Regions from separate parts of the Homo sapiens genome. Here regions 1 and 2 are each linked to region 3. Evidence: promoter capture Hi-C in human tissues and cell types (Jung and others, 2019). All regions are on one chromosome and are shown on one strand. The core of a region is centred on a gene start or on the middle of the fragment in contact, and the rest is flanking DNA. Distances in the headings are between cores, read along the strand shown.

Region 1 (2,700 bases), core at 74-2,573, 150 kb before region 3:
GCTCAGTAAATATTAGATAATATAAGTTTATGTTTTGTAATTGTTTATTGATGTCTATCTCTTGCTTTCTTTATAACTCCAAATCTCTTTTACATCCTTCCTGCCAGGCCACTTCATGCAGGTAGGGAAGAGGATCTCAGCAATGGAGGCTCTGGGGTTCCATAAGTAACCTAAGGGAAATGAAAATGTAAAAGCAGGTCAAAGTGTGGCTTGTATGTGCTCTGCTGGTGCCTTAAGCACTGGGAGAATCTGGAAAATTATTTAACTTTTTGGTCAGACTATACTCAGTTGATTAACATTGGTTGATAGATTATTATTAGTAACAGCAAATAACACTTGGAAATGGAGGGCTACTTTTCTTTCCATATCTGACTTTTTCTGATCCACTGGAGTAACCCACATGAAAGTGAAAACCCCTAGTTTTGCTTCTGTACCTTTTATTTCAGGGCAGAGGAATTATTTTCTAAGAAATTCCTTTTATTTGAATTTGTAAATTTCTATTTCAAAAAACAATAGTTTTCATTTTTCTTTGAAATATCAAACATGTTGCTCACTGAACCTTGCTTCAAACTATCAGGAAATACTTTGTTAGAAAGTAGGGAGGATTAAAAAGCCATTAATTTTAGATGAATGAAGATTATACAAGACAGTCTTGTGATAGGAAGTCTTCATAAAATATTAAAAATACAGGAAGATGTTTTTATCAAGTAAGTTTTCTATTGCTCATGTTTCTTAGCTTTCTTAAAGGAATTTTGGGCAGGCCTTAAATTGGCGAGTTTTTTCATTCATTTATGCTTAAAAGATGTTAGTTTCTTTGAGTGAATTCATTGCAAATAGTCACAGGCATTGCATTCCAAGGAAGAATCTGCTGTAGCAGAACTAGATTTGACAGAATATACTTTGTAGCTTACTTTGTGGGAAAAATTATGAAGATTTTTACAGATATTAAAATAAGTAAAAGAATAAGAAACAAAACATATATATATATATATTTTTAAGAATTGCCCAAGCTTCCAAGTAATATAGTTAAAGCTTTTCACCCTTAAGAATTTAATGACTCTGGTATTCTCTTTCATAGCTCATTTCTCAAGCAGTCCATTTTTGGGGTATAACTATAAAGTGTTTATAAATAAATATGATGAAAGTTACCACATAGTTACTACATTTTTGAAGCTGACCTGTAAAGGCAGAAGCAAAATCTTAGCCTTTGCAATTTACAAAACAAAGCCCACTAAATGCACTTACTTCTCAAGATGGCCAAACCCACCGCAGTAACTTACTAAGGTATCCGGAGTCGACAGCCTCGTGGTGTTCAGTCCCACCAAGGATGGGAGAGTTTGGGACATCCAGTTTGAGATCATTGCCATGGTACTAAGCACAGCGCCAAGCTTCAGCAGTGGAGGACTCATTGCTGTGGAGCTAATGAGTTTTCATAGTGACTGATTAAGATCCCGGTGCCGGGCTGGCAGCGGGAGGCGTGACTGCAGCGCGCCACATCTACAGCATGAAAAGAGATCAACTTCCCCAGCTCTAATCACCCAGGAAAGCTTCGGAACCTCCTTCCCCCATCCTCGTGGGAAGTGCCCTGCCCTTCTTTTTCCTCCCTTACCAGACATTTTGCTGGATCATCAAACAAAATATTCTTGATAGGCTTGGTTGGTAATTATCAGAGAGCAGAGGTTGGAGGGAGGCGGAAACTTGAGCTTTCCCAGCTCCACTTTAGTTAGTTACCATCAACAGAATCCATTTCCTCTGGGGTTTGTGTAAGTATAATCAGCTACTCTTTATCTTTCATTAAAAAAAAAAAATACACCTTTAAATGGAGGTCTGCCAAAGTGCACATTTCAAACACCAAACTTAATATCTACAGATTTCTCTGGGCAAGGACAGAGTGCTTTTAGGAAGAACATGAAAATAAAGTCTGCAAATAATTTTCCAGATGATCATATTGAGAGTAGGAGATAATTTTTTTTTTTAGAAAGTAACCTAAAATTAGCATCATTGCTTTAAAAATATAGTCAAAGATTAATAGCTACTGCTTGTGGCAAACATTACCTTTAGGCATCTTACACCTGAACAGACAGAAAAGAGAAAAGACAGCCTTGCAGAAAAACTTCTGTTACAGAAATTTTATATGTGTTTCCAGTTTTGCTTTTGAGAATGAAGGCTTTGCTTCGTAGGTGTTCAGTCACACAGGAAACTCAGTTAACTCTATTTTCAGTTTGTGAGGAATGACGGACTGATATGGAAAGTCTGTATCTTGAGAGAACATGTGATTTAGTATAAAGGGCACAGGACTTGGACTCAGGAAGTCTGGGATCTAGTATTTGTTCTCCTCTAGTTAGCCATATGACTGGCCGGTGACAAGATTCCTTGGCTTCAGTTTTTTCTACAATATAAGGATGTTGGAAAATATGCTCTCCAAGGTCCCTTCCAGCTCTCAAATTCAATGATCTGTTTATTAGATTACATTAGCAAGTGTGGTATATAGAATCCAGGGTTTATGGGTAACTTTATTATATTGTTTTCATAAATACTATAAATTTTCCACATCCAAATCTCAGGTTCCAAATGAAAGAAATCAGAGGTCTTTGTCTTATCCAATATATGTGTTTTAAAGTAAAAATATAAAGAGAAGACACAAAACAAAATATGGATGAATGAAAATTAAATGAAAAGAAATTGGTTACAAAAAGGAAA
Region 2 (2,700 bases), core at 87-2,586, 180 kb before region 3:
CTAGAGTTAACAATAATGAGAAAGCATGACACCTCTGTTCTGGTGAAGCTTACATTTTGGTGAGAAGACAGAAAGAATAAATTAAAAAACAAATAAACAAACAAACTAAACATATCATACAGAAATAAATTTAATGCCAAGATTTAAGTAGGGCAATTTTATAAAGAGTGACTGGGGAGCTACTTGATATTGGGAGGGTAAGGAAGACCTCTCAGTGTGTGACATTTAATTTGAGATCTTATTGACAAGAGAAGGACATTTAGGCATTTAGTTTATTTACTGGAGCAGTTGTTTAGTGGATTTAGCCATTTAGAGAATAGCTAGGGGAAGGCAGCATCTTAAAGTGGTTGGGGACATGGGTTAAAGAGTCGGCCTGGATTTGAATCCTGATTTTATCCCTTATTCGCTGGAGACCTTGAACAATTTTCTAACCTCTCAGTGTTTCATGGGTAACAATAGAAATAATATCGTATCAAAGTGTTATTGAGAAGATTAAATAAAAAATATGGCTACATGTTTAAAATAGTGCTTGGTACATAGTTAAGTACTTAAGAAATAATAGCTATTATTATTGTTATTGCAAAGGCCTTAATACGCTTGATGAATTAAGAGGAGCAAATAAACAGAAAGAAGATCAATGTATTTAGAATACACTTGGAACAGAAGAAGACGAGATTGGAGAGATGAGTAGTCCAGTAGTCCACATTGTTTGTAAACTTTGTGAAGACAAGATTTGGATTTTATTCTACGAATGATCGAAAGTCATTGGATTATTTTAAAGGGGGAGGGGAATGACAGAATGTAAGCTGCACCTTAGAAAGATCTCTCTAGCTACTGTATAGAATATTAATTGTAGAGTGGATAGAGTGTAAACAGTCTCATTAAAAGGTTATCAGTTTTGGGAGGCTGAGGTGGGCGGATCACAAGGTCAGGAGATCGAGACCATCCTGGCTAACACGGTGAAACCCCGTCTTTATTAAAAATACAAAAAAAATAGCCGGGCGTAGTGGCGGGCACCTGTAGTCCCAGCTACTCAGGAAACTAAGGCAGGACAATGGCATGAACCCGGGAGGTGGAACTTGCAGTGAGCCGAGATCGCGCCACTGCATTCCAGCCTGGGTGACAGAACAAGACTCCGTCTCAAAAAAAGAAAAAAAAAAAAAAAGGTTATCAGGCTGATTTAGGTGAAAGATGATGGAAGCAGTTGTGGAGATGGAGAAAAGTAGATGGACTTGGGGTATGTTTTTAGAATAAAGTGGATAGGACTAGGCTTTGGATTAGATGTGAGGAAAGGGAATTTAAAAACTCAAAAAAAAATAATCAAAGATAACATCTAGATTTTTGGCTTGTCCAGCTAGACAGATTGTAGTGTCATTTACTCGGATGAAATGACTGAGGGAGGAATGGGTTTGGGAGCAAAAATAAAGAATCCAACAGGGATAATTCTAAGTTGTTCATGACTATTACACGTATCAGTAGAAACAGCATATAAATCTAGGGAACAGATACTCCTTTGAGTTTTGACAAAACAGTTTTGATGGTTTTTAGCATAATGATGACAGTGAAAGCCAGGGGCTACATATTGCCTCAGAGGGAAGGCATACACAGAAAAGAGAAAGGTATCTAGCACAGAACTCTGTAAATCACAATATTTATAAGACTCATCAAAGAAGCCCAAGAATAAGCTATAAGTTGGATAGAAAAAATAACGTGGTATTAAGAAATCCAAAAGAAGAAAGTGTTTTAAGAAGGATATAGTACTGACCTGTGAAAAACACCACTAAGATGTCTAGCAGCATAAGATCAAAGAAATAACCATAAAATTTGGCAGCAAGAGTCACTGCTGATTACAAAACTCAGAAAAAGTGTGGTGATCCCAGAAAATGAATCGAAGTTGGTTTGAAAAGAACGTAACCAAAGTAGCAGCTATAAAAGATTCTTTCAAGGGAAAAGAAGCAGGGAGACAGGAGTAGGAAAATATGAGATTACAGGAAGTTTTTATTGTTGTGCTGATGATGGTTAAGAAAGGTTTGTTTATAAAAATAATCTAGTAGGGAGCAATACGCTGATGTTGTGAAAGACAATAATTAAATAAATGAATCCCATGAGCAGATGGTAGTTTAATCTGTTTAGTAACCATGAGTAATCATGTGCCTATCTTTCCTTTTATAATTTTTGTGTGTGAGTGTCTGTCTGTTTTTACTCCCATCAATTTCACAGGAAATGTTCTTAGAGTGGTATATTCCATCCAGGTTTGAACACTGAGGCATGAGTTAGGAAGCCTGGTTTCAAATCTAGGCCACAGCATTCAATCATTGTATGAAGTTGGACAATGCCTTATTCTCTGGAGTGGAATTTCCTCATCTATAAAATGAAAATTCTGAAGCTTGACATTTTTTCATTTTAACTAAGGGAACATTGAATAGATAGTGGATCAATAGCATGTATATGCTGGTGGACAGAAGGTGGTATTTGTGGTTGTGGTCAAATAAACACCATCAGCGTTATGTTTATGATCACCATCATCTACCCTTATTCTCAGGAAGCAAAAAGCTGACAGAGCTCTCGATGTTGATTTCTTCTTAGTAGATGCTTCCCTTACAAATGGTTATTGATTTCCTAAGCTAGAATTCATCTTGCCAAATGAAATTAACAAAATTAAAGTTACAGGAATGTATAAAACTGGCAGTGTCTTTGTTT
Region 3 (2,710 bases), core at 122-2,621:
CAGAAATAATTACAAATATATACGACATGATTCTAAGTTTTAACTGTATACTATATTAGGCCTACAAATATCACAACCACAGTATTAAATTATGCTTGGTTACATCTTAGTTCTATTCAGTAATGAAAGGAAACTTAATTTGTCTACACTACACACATGATGTAAAGCTTTAAAAATAACTTTATAATATTCCAAAATATAGCTTGTATTAGTTTTATAGCATGGAATCATTCTTCCTATATTGTCAAATTGCTGTTGGCCAGTTAAATAAGTAAAATAATAAATTGTATCTCTTACTCTTTTTCACCAGGTGGCTTATCTCTTATTCCCTGTCATTATGATTTTCTTAGAAGGCTGAAGCTTTCAAATTATCTCACTTTGTCATCAAGACTTTTCTCAGACATCGTTGAAAATATTTGTCCATATTTTCCTGTCTTTTTATCAAAGGAGTTTAGCGTTCACTTTCATTGCCAGTACTAGATAATTTTCAGAGTTCAACGTCTATGAGTTAACTCATCCTTCCTATTGCCCTCCTTAGTTTGTTAAGGTTCTCACTTCCTGTTTCTTAACACTGATAATCAGAACTTCCTCAGTGCCCCCTAATTTTCTTAATGAAAAGGAAGAAACAAACACAAGCTCCTTTCACCAACGCCTCTCAGCCATGGCAGAGAGTATAGCTCTGCTGCTCTGCCATGTGTTTTACAAGCAGCATCCCAAATGTTTTGGACACAAACCGCAGCACGTCTGCGATGGGAGTATTATTGACCAGGATCAGCTGGAAAACGCTTCCCTGCTTTCAACAAAGAAACGGTTCACCATGTCCTAATACATGTTTATAAATTGCATTGTTTCTACTGCAAACTCCTTTGCATTACCCGTCCGACTTCAAAAGAGAGCATTAAGCAGTTGGACACGGAATAAGCTAAATTCCCCGGAGAGCCGCATTGCCCGCTGCCCATGCACATTATATTTTCTCCTAGTCCCTCCCCCCGCGCAGTAGGACTCTACCTTGAGGAGCTATTCCTCCGGTAGTTCACCTTGTTATGTTCCAAGCAGTGGGGATACGCCAGACACCATAAGGTAGCTGAAAGAGCTGTCTCTCGTCCCGTTTTTGACATATTTATTTGCATTTCTGTTAGGTTTGTTACATATTGCACATTTATTTCAAACAAGACTCAAAATATTGTTCATACCTTGGAAGGATCTAATCCGGCAAACAAAGACAGCAGCAGGAGGTTGAGAAGGTTGGACGTCGCCTGCATTCTGATCTGGGTTTTTGCCCCTCTTTACTCTCTTTTATGTAGGCTCTCCACTCACTGCAGAGACCTTTCCCTCGTCAGTTGCACTTTCTGCCTGCCAGTCAGAGCCGAGTGGAAGCAGAGGCGGCGGCAGCAGCAGTAGCAATAACAGCAGCAGCGGCAGCGGCGGCAGCCGCCCTGGGGGGCGATCATTCCGCAGGCATTCTCAGAGCTAGGAGTCCGGGAGCTCTAGAGAGTGGGTTGGGCTGCAGTGGGCGCTGGCCGCGGTGCTGAAGCGCCTCCAACCCGCGCGCCCCAGTTTACCCTCTCCCCCGCTGCTATATAGCTAGCCCACCTCAAAAGTTTTGACCCAAGGAATAGATAAAGGGATTAACTGCTGAGAGAGGTGTGGAGACCTGGACAACGGATATGACATCACTACAGCTCCTGGGGGTTTCGGGGGGATATTTTGCGGGGAATTTGTTAACCAAACAAGGATTGACTCTCGTGCTCCAGTTCAGCATTTGCCGGCAACTTGAGCTGCAGAGAAGTAAAGAGTCAGCTAAATACAGGATTATGAAACAAATAGTGCACTAGAACCTTCTGCTGTCATTGACAGAGGACTTGATATTGTATTTAGTGCTTTAAACAAAGTTTGCAGTGCAGACTATCAGTGTGTGTCATCCAAGGCACACGATTTTCAGCTGTTATTGATAGATGAATGTGGTAATTTATAGATATGTGCAGTCATTTATGAATAGCTTATTAAAGTTATATGTTTTGGTTAGGTATTAATGTGTATCTATCTATCTAGGGATTTGGTCATCTAAAAACACTATGCATAAATAAATAAAGAGGCTTATATTCTTCTTTTAGTTATAAATGGTATATTCCATTAGTGATCCCCCCAGCTGAAATATCCCCCCCATATGCACAGCCATACCTGGAAATATAGTTTTTCTATCAGTCTGACTTGTGTTTTTACTTGAAGAAGAATTCACTGATAGATGGATAGCGGGATGGGAAGAGTGTTTATTTCTAAGCTTTCAAACACTTCTGTAATCTAGGGCTCAAGAAAAGGCAGAATAGCTGCCTCACAAGAGCAAAGAAAGGGTAAATGGCAAACTCTCTTACCCTGCATCATTCAACCTTACTGGAGCAATTTCATTTCTTTGAATATGGAAAAAGTGTTCTCAATAATATAAAAAGGAAGAAGTTGGTAGCCACCCTGAAACATCCCTCTCGTACAATTATGCCTGTAATATTTCCATCTTCTATTGATTTTTCTAGAAATTATAATTCCTAAGGGTTAAAATATATAGATAGACTGGGTCTGTGGACATTGCTTCCTTTTACTTCGACATTTAAAAGACAATGAATTGAGATATCAGACACATACCGAGTATGAAATCTCCATCAACCTTTCACTGAAAATATATCCTATTTTTTAATATAAGAAATCTCAATTAGGA

The links. The method cuts DNA at HindIII sites, captures the fragments that hold promoters and counts their contacts. A contact is called where the count stands out against the background at its distance.
Region 1: a fragment that was not itself captured here is called in contact with the fragment with the promoter of OLFM3 in region 3 in 5 of the 25 tissues and cell types used here (H1 embryonic stem cells, dorsolateral prefrontal cortex, heart left ventricle and 2 more).
Region 2: a contact is called between a fragment that was not itself captured here and the fragment with the promoter of OLFM3 in region 3, in 3 of the 25 tissues and cell types used here (H1 embryonic stem cells, hippocampus and mesenchymal stem cells).

The regions. Positions count from the first base shown.
Region 1 is chr1:101,845,565-101,848,264 of GRCh38, forward strand. All of the region lies in intron 1 of OLFM3 (olfactomedin 3), which reads right to left. Among named protein-coding and RNA genes, the nearest start is that of OLFM3, 150 kb to the right of the region's middle. RefSeq lists an enhancer at 1,208-1,712. The HindIII fragment of the contact is 4,101 bases long and covers 1-2,700 here.
Region 2 is chr1:101,814,305-101,817,004 of GRCh38, forward strand. The region is part of intron 4 of OLFM3 (olfactomedin 3); the gene reads right to left. Among named protein-coding and RNA genes, the nearest start is that of LINC01709, 180 kb to the left of the region's middle. The HindIII fragment of the contact is 4,181 bases long and covers 1-2,700 here.
Region 3 is chr1:101,995,555-101,998,264 of GRCh38, forward strand. OLFM3 (olfactomedin 3) reads right to left here and starts at 1,372. Exons shown (of 6, transcript NM_058170.4): 1 at 1,194-1,372. The coding sequence starts at 1,262. The HindIII fragment of the contact is 3,886 bases long and covers 1-2,710 here.